Regions from separate parts of the Homo sapiens genome. Here regions 1, 2 and 3 are each linked to region 4. Evidence: promoter capture Hi-C in human tissues and cell types (Jung and others, 2019). All regions are on one chromosome and are shown on one strand. The core of a region is centred on a gene start or on the middle of the fragment in contact, and the rest is flanking DNA. Distances in the headings are between cores, read along the strand shown. Region 1 overlaps ADIPOR2 (adiponectin receptor 2). Region 2 has its middle 32 kb from the start of FBXL14. Region 3 has its middle 14 kb from the start of WNT5B. Region 4 holds the start of WNK1 (WNK lysine deficient protein kinase 1).

The links. The method cuts DNA at HindIII sites, captures the fragments that hold promoters and counts their contacts. A contact is called where the count stands out against the background at its distance.
Region 1: a fragment that was not itself captured here is called in contact with the fragment with the promoter of WNK1 in region 4 in 1 of the 25 tissues and cell types used here (dorsolateral prefrontal cortex).
Region 2: a contact is called between a fragment that was not itself captured here and the fragment with the promoter of WNK1 in region 4, in 1 of the 25 tissues and cell types used here (dorsolateral prefrontal cortex).
Region 3: a fragment that was not itself captured here is called in contact with the fragment with the promoter of WNK1 in region 4 in 1 of the 25 tissues and cell types used here (dorsolateral prefrontal cortex).

Annotation. Positions count from the first base shown.
Region 1 is chr12:1,698,034-1,700,733 of GRCh38, forward strand. The region is part of intron 1 of ADIPOR2 (adiponectin receptor 2); the gene reads left to right. It also overlaps the pseudogene LOC100533654. Among named protein-coding and RNA genes, the nearest start is that of ADIPOR2, 8.3 kb to the left of the region's middle. The HindIII fragment of the contact is 6,685 bases long and covers 1-2,700 here.
Region 2 is chr12:1,561,285-1,563,984 of GRCh38, forward strand. No RefSeq gene overlaps it. Among named protein-coding and RNA genes, the nearest start is that of FBXL14, 32 kb to the right of the region's middle. The HindIII fragment of the contact is 3,948 bases long and covers 1-2,700 here.
Region 3 is chr12:1,613,675-1,616,374 of GRCh38, forward strand. No RefSeq gene overlaps it. Among named protein-coding and RNA genes, the nearest start is that of WNT5B, 14 kb to the right of the region's middle. The HindIII fragment of the contact is 5,498 bases long and covers 1-2,700 here.
Region 4 is chr12:751,308-754,007 of GRCh38, forward strand. WNK1 (WNK lysine deficient protein kinase 1) reads left to right here and starts at 1,272. Exons shown (of 28, transcript NM_018979.4): 1 at 1,272-2,700. The coding sequence starts at 2,259. RefSeq lists enhancers at 328-427, 478-527, 1,285-2,003, 2,004-2,700 and silencers at 1,168-1,317, 1,398-1,777, 1,788-2,167. The HindIII fragment of the contact is 16,449 bases long and covers 1-2,700 here.

The DNA.
Region 1 (2,700 bases), core at 187-2,686, 950 kb after region 4:
CTGCAGGACATGTTGGCTGTAGACTGGATCCACAGTGAGTAGTTCTCAGAGAACCCGTACTGCTGACATTTGCAAACCCATTTCAGCTGTGGTGTGGAGCTGTGGCGTTGTACTTCTGGATGTGACCAGAAACAGTGTTTGGGAGCTCAGCAGGTGGTGCTGTCTTGGCTGATTGTGTGTGTGTGTGTGTGTGTGTGTGTGTGTGTATTTTATTTAATTTCTGAGACAGGGTCTTGCTCTGTCACCCAGGCTGGAGTGCCATGGCACAATCACGGCTCACTGCCCTCTCGAACTCAAACAGTCCTCCCAACTGAGACTCCCACGTAGCTGGGACTATAGATGCACGCCAGGCTAATTTTTGCATTTTTAATGGAGACGAGGTTTTGCCATGTTGCCCAGGCCGGCCTTGAACTCCTGGACTCAAGTGATCCTCTTTGCCTTAGCTTCTCAAAGTGCTGGGATTATAGGCTTGAGCCACCATGACAGGCCCTGTGTGTGTGTTTTTAAAATTAATATTTGTGGCTTACTTTACATCTGCATCTACTCTCTTCTTTTTAGTAGTTCTCTAGTGTAGTATTATTAAATGGATATGCTATAACTTAATACTGCTCTTACTGATGGATATTTAGATTATATAAATGGATTGTAAATTGCCCATACATTTTATGTATATTTATTGCAAGCTAATTCCCCTTTAGTAATTTTGTAATAGTTGAAGAAAACACATTTTTCATTTTGATGTGTGTTATCACATTGCCACCCAGAAAGGTCACAGCAATGTAAACTCTCACCAGAAATGTGGGTGGAGTCTAGCTTCTCTGTGTCATTACAAATTAAAAAAAAAAATCTTTGTTTATCTGATAGGAGGTTAAGCATTTGCAGTATATTCTATCTAACTGGGAGATATGCTTTGTTTCAATAGCATTCTTTTAAAGTTGATTTACGATTACTTCAGGTGGAGCATGCATTCTGTTCCCGGGCCTCCCTTAGGTGGAGCTGCTTCACCTATTTACATTCTCTGCTTGGCTCTTGAAAGCATATGGTTTTGTTATCACTGATCAAAAAGAATCTGGGTGCCTGCCTAATAGACTATATATTTCTTGAGGGTAAGGAACGTGTAACTTTCTTGATAATCTACTGGCAGTTCCGGTATATAGCAGGTGGTAAGTAAATGGTCTTTTAAAAATCTAAATTGGTTCATGAACCAGTAACTGTTGGGGTTACTGCTGAGTGAAGTGCTTTAATTTTGTTAAAAATAATATTTTCAAATTGTGAAATACAAACTTGAAAAACTGCAGTGCATGCTGGGTGCGGTCGCTCAGGCCTGTAATCCCAGCACTTTGGGACGCCAAGGTGGGCGGATCACCTGAGGTTGGGAGTTTGAGACCAGCCTGGCCAACATGGCGAAACCCCCGTCTCTACTGAAAATACTAAAACAAAACAAAACAAAAAAAACCAAAAACAAAAATTAGCCAGGCATCATGGCCACTGCCTGTAATCCCTGCTACTTGGGAGACCGAGGCAGGATAATCACTTGAACCCGGGAGGCAGAGGTTGCGGTGAGCCGAGATAGCACCATTGCACTCCAGCCTGGGCAACAAGAGCGAAACTCCGTCTTAAAAAGAAAAGAAAAACTTCATTATAAAATTGTCACTTTGGCATATGTTGTCTCTCATCTTTCAACTCTAAGATAAGTTAAATAGGACGAACTGATATCTTAGGACCTGTTAGGAAATAATTAGCCTATTTTATAAGTACATTTGGTATTTAGAAATTGGAAGTTGAGGAATTTATTAAAAAGGGGATTTGTTTAACATTACTTATGGTTTTGAGTTTTCTGGATTGGAGTATACCATGTGTTAGAAGGGGATATATGTTGGCCAATGATATTATAGATTGGCTTAATTAGACAAGTGTCCAGACAGAAGGAAAAGGGAAGCTAAATTCTGAGAATTGCCAGATTATCTTCAGGCATGGGAAAAATAACTGGAAAAGGACACTTAAGTTTTTTAATGGAAGACTACAACAAAATGATATTTTCTTTATAACTGATCATATTACACATTCTTACTGGATTTATTGAATATAAGAATATTCTTATTTCCACAATGTCTGTGTACTAGAGAACAAAACACAAAGCATATGGTCTTAAAAGGGGCAAAATTAGTTAGCTTATTACACTTTGGCCATTTAGGCCTTTCTTTTGTATGTTTGTTGTTAGTATATCAGCTGATTATTTTTCATTGACAGCATATTCACTTTAATCTTGTATGTTTTGAAATTAAGTTTAGTGAACATGTATGCCTAGTTGTATCCATGTATCCATTCCTTTGGTTAAGGAGGATGTCTTTGTGGTAGGGGTTACATTATGAAAACTTCAGCAGAATGGCACAGAAGATTGACTTTATTTTCTTGAAATTTATTTTATCCTATTTCTTCCAGAAAGGATATCTGGTAACTTAAAATAAAAGATCTGGAAGTGTAATAAAATATGTGTAAAAAGAAGAAATCAGGGAAAGGACAAAGCATATATTCTTTTCCCAAGTGACAGCATAATTCAATGACTAAGAATAAAAATTGGGTTTGAGTTTGCTTGGCAGCGAGGGTAAAAATGGAAGTATGGTAAAATACATAGCACTAAACTAAAAGGAGGAACAAGACCAATTTTTCAGGGGTGAAATCCTCTCTTCACAGATTTCT
Region 2 (2,700 bases), core at 76-2,575, 810 kb after region 4:
CTGTGGCACTCTTTGCTTCGGCTTTGGATTATAGTAATTTATCCCAGAACTCTTTCGTTAAAAGGGATCTGACATATGGACTAAGACCAAAATATCTGTGTTGGATCACTTGGGGACATTTTTAAAATTACTACAGATCCCTGAACCCCACACTTAAGATTCCGATGAGCAAGTCTGGGGTGGGTCCCTGGAATATGTACTTCTAAAAGCTTCCCCAGGCAATTGTGATACTCAGCCACGTTTGGGAACCATTAATCCAGTCCAACCTCCTCATTTTATTTATGGGGAAACTGAGGTCCAAAATTGTTAAATTATTTCCCCAAGATCACTTAATTAGTGGCAGAGGCATCCAATTATGTGGTTATGGTTGTCCTAGCTTTTTAATCAGATTTAAGCAGTTCAGAAGCAGTGCCTGTACTTTGCTCATCTTTGTGACCTGTGTAAGTACCACCTGTGCACCTCAGTCAAGACAGGCCATTCACAGTAAGTGCCACTATTAGTGACACAATAGGTGGCTACACTGCACGCTCCAAGGAGACAGATGCCAGGTCTGTTCCTACTAACGTTTATTTCCAGCACCTCACACAGTGCCTGACATGTAGTAAGGTGCTTAATTAATATTGATCAAATGAACAAAGCATCTGCTATACGCCAGGCACTATAGTAGAAGCTTTACATACATCATCTCATTTCGTGTATTCCAACTACAACCCTGTGAAGAAGGCTTTCATATTCTCATTTTAAAGACGAAGAAACAGGGCCGGGCACGGTCACACCTGTAATCCCAGCACTTTGGCAGGCCAAGGTGGGTGGATCACCTGAGGTCAGGAGTTCGAGACCAGCCTGGCCAACGTGGTGAAACCCCATCTCTCCTAAAAATAGAAAAATTAGCCAGGCGCGGTAGCATGCACCTGTAATTCCAGCTACTCAGGAGGCTGAGGCAGGAGAATTGCTTGAACCTGGTAGGTGCAGGTTGCAGTGAGCCGAGATTACGCCACTGCACTCCAGCCTAGGCGACAGAGTGAGACTCTGTCTCAAAAAAATATAAATAAATAAATAAATAAATAAATAAATAAAGATGAGGAAACAGGACCAGAGGCTAGGTCGTCTGCTCTATGTCACGCAGGAAACAATCAGCATAACTGAGCTCTAAAGCCCATTGCTCTTTCTACAGTGCTGCAGGATGGCCATGCTCCACCCTCCGTGCTCTTCAGAAAGCTGGGGGTCATTCCAAAACAATATATGGGGAGAGGTATTCAAAAGCCCCAAATGTTTAGAAGCCTCAGTTTTGTTCTCAGCTCTAACATAGCCTTGCTGCTCCATGAGGTAATGTAAAAGGTAGTTCTACTGCAACTTGTATTGTGTATGTTCTAGAACATTCAGTACTCCTACCACTTGCATGCTTATATGTGTATGACTCGATACTATCAAAAGCTTTACAAGTATTTCATCCTCTTTCCCTTGTGTGTGTGTGTGTGTGTGTGTGTGTGTGTGTGTGTGTGTGTGTGTGTGTGTTTAATGCTATTAAAATTCTCCTCCCTTTGTAGGGCAGCAGTGCCAGGACTAGGGCAAACAGAGTTCAAAGAGTGTCCCGGCATGAACTATTCTAATACCAGGTTTCAGATATGAGCTAATGGCTGAGAAACAGGAGTCAGGGATGTGAGTTGGCCCCACACACCTAGTCCCCTGCCCAGACCACTTGCGCAGTGAGTGGGTTCTTTTGTACCAGAGGAATCGCGTGCCAGGGACCCAGCCTCTAAAAATGACAGGGTTCTGACTCCACTGTCAGGCATGAGAGGGAGACCGAAGTCGCCACATCCCAGAGACTGAGTTTCAGCTCCGCCATCTGAAATGTTTCTGTTTTTTTCTTTCCAATTTGATGTTTTCCTTGGATGCTGGCCTTGAGTTTATACTCCATGTAGACAGTTTCCTCATTCCTCGTGGCCTCCTTTTCATTGCTGTTGCTTCCTCAATCGGTCCTTAGTGAAACGCCAATCTCAGTGGTGTGGGAACGAGTATGAGAGACCTCGCTCTAGGTGCTCGCACGGAACTTCCGGCCCCACAAGCTGACGCCCCACCGTGTCCTCCGTGGCTGCCTCCACCTGCCCCTGCAGCTTTCAAATATGTCTGTCATTGCTTTCAAATTCTCACTTATCTTCCCTTCTTTTTTTAAATTAAAAAAAAATGTTTCAGAGGCAGGGTCTTGCTGTGTTGCCAGGCTGGAGTGCAGTGGGACCATCGTGGCTCACTGCAGCCTTAAACTCTGGGGCTCAAGTGATCCCCCTCCTCAGCATCACAAGTAGCTGGGACCACAGGCGTGCACCATCATGCCTATTTCATTCGTTTAAATTGCCTTGAACAGAATTACATTAATAAGGGCTCTGATCTCATAAATAACCCAAGATTCCTTGGTGTTGAGGCTGGAATCACAGAGCCACCTCCTAGAAAGGCCCATCGAAGCCTTGGGGGAGCCTCAGAACTGCAGGCTTAGGGCGGCTGATGGTTCTTTTCCTCCTGTCTGTGCCAGGGTAGCAAACTGCATATCACAGCAGATTACTTGGAAGATAACTAAATGAGATATAGGGATGAACTCCTTGGGATGCTGGGATATCAGTGTTGGATTTCATAATATGCAACCACTTTTATGGTGAGGGATTTGGAAGCCAACTGCTGTCGGAATTACTGAAGGTGCCAACATGA
Region 3 (2,700 bases), core at 128-2,627, 860 kb after region 4:
ACAAAACAGAATAAGTGTTGTAAGAGGTTGTATTAGTTAAGGTCTTGAGGTTCCTGTAACAAACAAATCTCCCAAATGTAAATTGGCTCTAGAATCATAGAAATTTATTTCTAGCCCATGTAAAAGCCAAAATAGATGTTCATTATTATCAGGCAGGTCTCCCTCTGGTAATTTTGGGGCTTGGGCTTCTTCTGATTTATCACTCTACCTTTGGCCTGGTTTTGAAGGCCACCATGCTTGTCTGCATCAAGCTGAAAGAAGAAAAGCGAGCTTGGAGGTCTCCTGGTTGGAGATTTTTAGAGGCCAGGCCTGGGAGCTGCAGACATCACTTCTTCTAGTATACCTTTAGATAGCACCCAGTCATATGACCACCTCTTTGTGCAGTGGATGCTGGGTAATGTAGTCCAGCGGTGTGCAATTTTAGTGACCATCAAGTGATCTCTGCTACAATGGGCTTTGAGGGCCCAAAGGAGGAGGACGTCATATGAGAGTGAAGTAACTTATTGGACAAATACACACATGCCTAGGAGGGTGGAAATAATTAATAATTATTTCTACTATTAACCGTGATTTTGTCTTAATTTTAATAAGAGGGTTATATATCTCTTACATATTACAGATAATCTTCAGGAATCTTAGGAATTCCTAAATTTATCCTAATATTTAGGAATTCCTAAATTCCTGAAAATAAGGTGGGATATGTATCTCAATTTGTTTGTATTTTCAGGAGTGGTGACTCTTTCTGATCCATGGCCTGTGCTTACAAGATAGCCGGATCCCATGGAGATCACACCTGCTCCAGCTGTCTCATGCAGCTTGGGAGGTGACCACAGAAACAGTGGGCCCTCCCCAAAGCCACATGCGGATAGACTATAGTCAGGACTCTTCATCTCCATTCAGCAGTGACCAGAGGCCAGCGGCCCGAGGCCTGTGCTGGTGGTTTGTTCCAGCTGCGGACATTTGTCATCCCTTGGCTGCATAAGGCACAGACCACACCTCCTCGTCTCCTTTCCACTCAGGCTGACAGTGCTCTCCTTCTGCCCCTTGTAGTGTTTCTACTGAATCAGACCTCCCAGCTGGGCTCCCACCTTCCAGATGCTTACCCTCCACACTCCATCCATCATTATTGGAGCAAACGATTACCAGAGCTTTTCTAAATCCACATCTGATGGTGCCTCTCCCCTGTTCAGATGCCTCGGATGTCTCCTGCAGATGACAAGAGACGCCCAAACTCCTTATAAGGGGGCCCCAATAGGAAGGTTCTGCTTCACGAAGAATTAATGACTTTTGTTTGTCTTTAGATTTTGGCTTTGGTTCTCTCTCTCTCTCTCTCTGTCTCTCTTTCTCTCCCCCTTCCCTCTTCTGTTTTCTGAAGTTGAATTTTGGACTTGAAACTACGTGTCATGTGTTTTTCAGGCCTCTGTGCCTTTGCTCCTTGGGCGGGTCTCATTCTCCTATCTCCAGCTGTGAGAATCCTGTGTGTCCTCTTAGGGACAGGTTCAAATACCATCACCCCCAGAAAGCATCCCCACCGTTGGAACGACATAGTCTTTCTCAGCTGTTTGGATAGTAATTGATACCTCCATTATAACGTATTGCCCTGCTAAATGTTATAATCACATATGTTTGCCTCACCTCTACGAGATTCCTGTTATTCAACCAAGAGTTCCTGTTACTCAACTTTGAGTAAGACCTAATAGATGCTCAATAATATTAGTTGACTTGAATTAAGAGTCACAGAAAGAATTCCATTTCGATTACTTTTTGGCATTTTCACTGGGTCTGAACTTTTTCGTTTACTCTGAGTAGCAAATTTAAAATAGCAAACAATTTGGTTCTGATCATGGGAAATTGCTCTCAAGGTCATTGCAGAATGGCTGCTTTTCCTAAAGATTACCTGCAATGATGGAAGTATAGGTTGTCATTGGAATAGAAAATGGTTGTCTCCATGGCTGGTAGGTGGGGTCTTGCTCCTGGGCGGTAGGTTAGAGTTTGCTACCCTTACCTTGAGTGCCATGGTACTTTGCAAGTAACTCTGTTAAAGCTCCTACTGCACCACGTTTAAACAATGGATTTCAAATGGAACTTTCGGTTTTGTACAAGTGATGATTTGTGTTCTTGCCTGGCTTCCACTCTAGACCAGCACTATGAGACAGTCCATAAGCTCTCTGTGATCATGGAAACGTTCTATAATCCGTGCTGTCCAAAACAATAGCCACTAGCCACTTGTAGCTACTGAGCCCTTGAAACGTGGCTTCTGCAATGGAGGAACTGAACATTTAATTTAAATTCATTTTTAATTTAAATAGCCACATGTGGTCAGTGGCTACCATCTTGGGCAGTGATATTGAGTTCCTAGGAGAGTAGCATTGTATTAATTGATTGGAATATCCTATACAGTACTGTGTATTGAGTAAACCTACAGTAAGCATGTGTTAAATGATGAACAGTTAACATTTATTGAGTGCCTGCTGAATGCTAGGTGCTTCCCAGAGGCTGTCCTTGTGTTACCTTCATTTTCTGCAGAGCCCCGTGCTGGGGCAGCATAGACAGCAAGCTTGACCCCCATCATTGCAGCCTTCACCAAGAAAACAGGCAGTCGAGGGAGCAATTTAGCAAGAGGGTCAGGAGTTCCGTGAAAAGAAGCCTGGCAGAGCCATAAAAGAAACTAAAGAATTTTGGTGGTGAACCAAAAGCCTC
Region 4 (2,700 bases), core at 22-2,521:
CGCGTCCGGACGCTCTGATGCGGTTGCGTACGTTTTCAGCGCTTCCCGCTCTCCACCGGTTGGACTGAGGCTTTTAAACTGCAGTCTGCTCCCGAGTCCGGCTTCCTACTCGGTCTGGTGCCCCCTGGTGCTCGTCCCCTCCACATCTTGAGTAGTTGCGAAGAGCACAGGGGTCCAGGCAGACAAGGATGCTTTCAAGAAAAACATTCCATGGCGGCAAGCCGCATGGATCCACATTTCCCGGGCCCAGAGCCTTTGTAGACATTGCATGTGGACATTCAGGAGCTCTAGAGAAAGAGGGGGTGTTGTTTCACGAAGCCACCAGCAGAAGAAAGGTGGAAAATAAGTTTCAACCAACTACAAAGGCAGAAGTCAGCCCAGCCCCCCAAGTGTGGTCAAAGACCCATAGATCCGTAGACCTTATCTTTTCTTGAATCCACCGCTCCCCCAACCCCCCTTTTATTATTTTTCAGACAAAGCAAAGATAGAGTTCACTAGGATCCCCGATTTCAGTAAGGCAGCCCTTTTTTGAGAGCCAGAATATCCGTCTCGGCCGGGAGCTGAGAATGTGGCCTTAATTGATGAGGGGAGGAGGATGGAAGGTAATCCTCCGTGTCTCCTCCTCCAATCCGTTTAATCAATATTAATTTCATGCACAATCTTCACAAAGTTTCTTTTCCCCTCCTCCGACTCAGAGCTCAGGCTCCGGTTATCCTGCTTTGCCCTTCCCTTCCACCCTCACAGCCCTGCAGTCACTCAACACTACTGAGGCTCTCTCCATTAAAGATGAACAACAGATCATTTTTCATTGCATGGCAACCCTAAGAGCTCTCTAGCTTAGCAGAGCATGATGGGAGTCTTTCCATCCCCCCCCCCACCCCCCGCCCGCTCGTTCCTCTTCTTTTTTTTTTTTTTTTCCTTCCTTTCCTTCTTCCACAATTAATCCCTAAATAATGATTTTCCTAAGCTCGCGCGGACTTCGGGATGGGGTTGAGCGACCCGTGATGACGCTCCCATCAGCCTTTCAGAAGGGACGGTTTCCAAAGAAAACTACAACTCCCACGAGGCATTAGGCTACAGCAACCGCAAGGCATCACGGAAGTCGTAGGCACTTTTCTTCTAGGTCCCGTTCATCCCCGCCAACCCGTAAACTATAAGTCCCAGGGTGCCTCGGGGCTAGCACGCCTGCGCAAAAGCCCCGGAGCGAGTTGGGGGGTGGGGCTGCTCCGGGCGGCGGGGGGCGGGATCCGAGCGGGCTGTGTGGAGGCTTCAGACTCCCGGCGCCATTTAGCGCGGAGAGTTTCCCGGGTGGACGCGGCTCCTCTCTCGGCCACTCCGCACCCCCATCTTCGGTGACAGAAGGCGCCTGGTGGGGGTGGCTGCTCTTTTCTCTCCCTGTTCCCCCTCACCCAGTCCTCTAGGTCTCCTCTCCTCTTGCCTCAGAGAAGCAGCGGAGCTCGGGCCCCGCGGTGAGCGGCCCTCCCCTCCCCGCCGTTCCCTCCTCCGTCAGCCCCCGGCACCGGCCCGGGAGGAGACGGGTTTGCCAGGCCTGGGGCGGGCGGGGAGGCCTCGGGGAAGGGGGGGCCCGCTCCTCAGGCGCCGAGGCTCCGAGGCTCCGGCCCTTCGCCTCTGGGCGATGGGCGACCTGTGAGGCCGGTCCCCATCGCTGGGGGCGCGTGTGGGAGGAGGCGGCCGCCCGAGTGACCGGGAGCCGGGCCGCGGCCTTCCCTCGCCCGCCTCGGCCCCTCCCACTCCTCTGCCCCGGGGCCGCCACCGCCCGGGCGTCGGACCTGGTCCCGTGCTCGCGGTGCCGCCGCCCTCTGGGCCTAGCCCGCCCAGCTCGGCGAGCGGCGGCAGTGGGAGCCGCGTCCGCCGCATCCGCCTCGACTCGGTGCCGGCCCCTGGCCCTCCCCTCATGACTGCGGCGCCTCTGCTGCCACCGCCCGCCCGGCCGCCGCTCGCCGCAGGATGGATGCGGACCGTGCGGCGCTAACCCCCGTGGCTCAGCTCCCGAATCGCCCGCCTTCGAGCCCTCCTCGTGAGCCGCAGCAGCCTCGGTGCCAGCCCCCGCCGCAGCTGGGCCCAGCGGTCCGCCTGTCCCTCGTTGCGGCTTGTCGGTGCTGAGTGAGGCGTCGTCCGGGTCGGCGCGAACCCGCCCGGCCGCGGTTCCCTGCAGACCTCTGCGCGGGCGGCTCGGCCCTTCACGCCCTTTTCGTTCACGAATCCGAGCCCGCTCGCCTCTCTCCAGCGAACCGACCATGTCTGGCGGCGCCGCAGAGAAGCAGAGCAGCACTCCCGGTTCCCTGTTCCTCTCGCCGCCGGCTCCTGCCCCCAAGAATGGCTCCAGCTCCGATTCCTCCGTGGGGGAGAAACTGGGAGCCGCGGCCGCCGACGCTGTGACCGGCAGGACCGAGGAGTACAGGCGCCGCCGCCACACTATGGACAAGGACAGCCGTGGGGCGGCCGCGACCACTACCACCACTGAGCACCGCTTCTTCCGCCGGAGCGTCATCTGTGACTCCAATGCCACTGCACTGGAGCTTCCCGGCCTTCCTCTTTCCCTGCCCCAGCCCAGCATCCCCGCGGCTGTCCCGCAGAGTGCTCCACCGGAGCCCCACCGGGAAGAGACCGTGACCGCCACCGCCACTTCCCAGGTAGCCCAGCAGCCTCCAGCCGCTGCCGCCCCTGGGGAACAGGCCG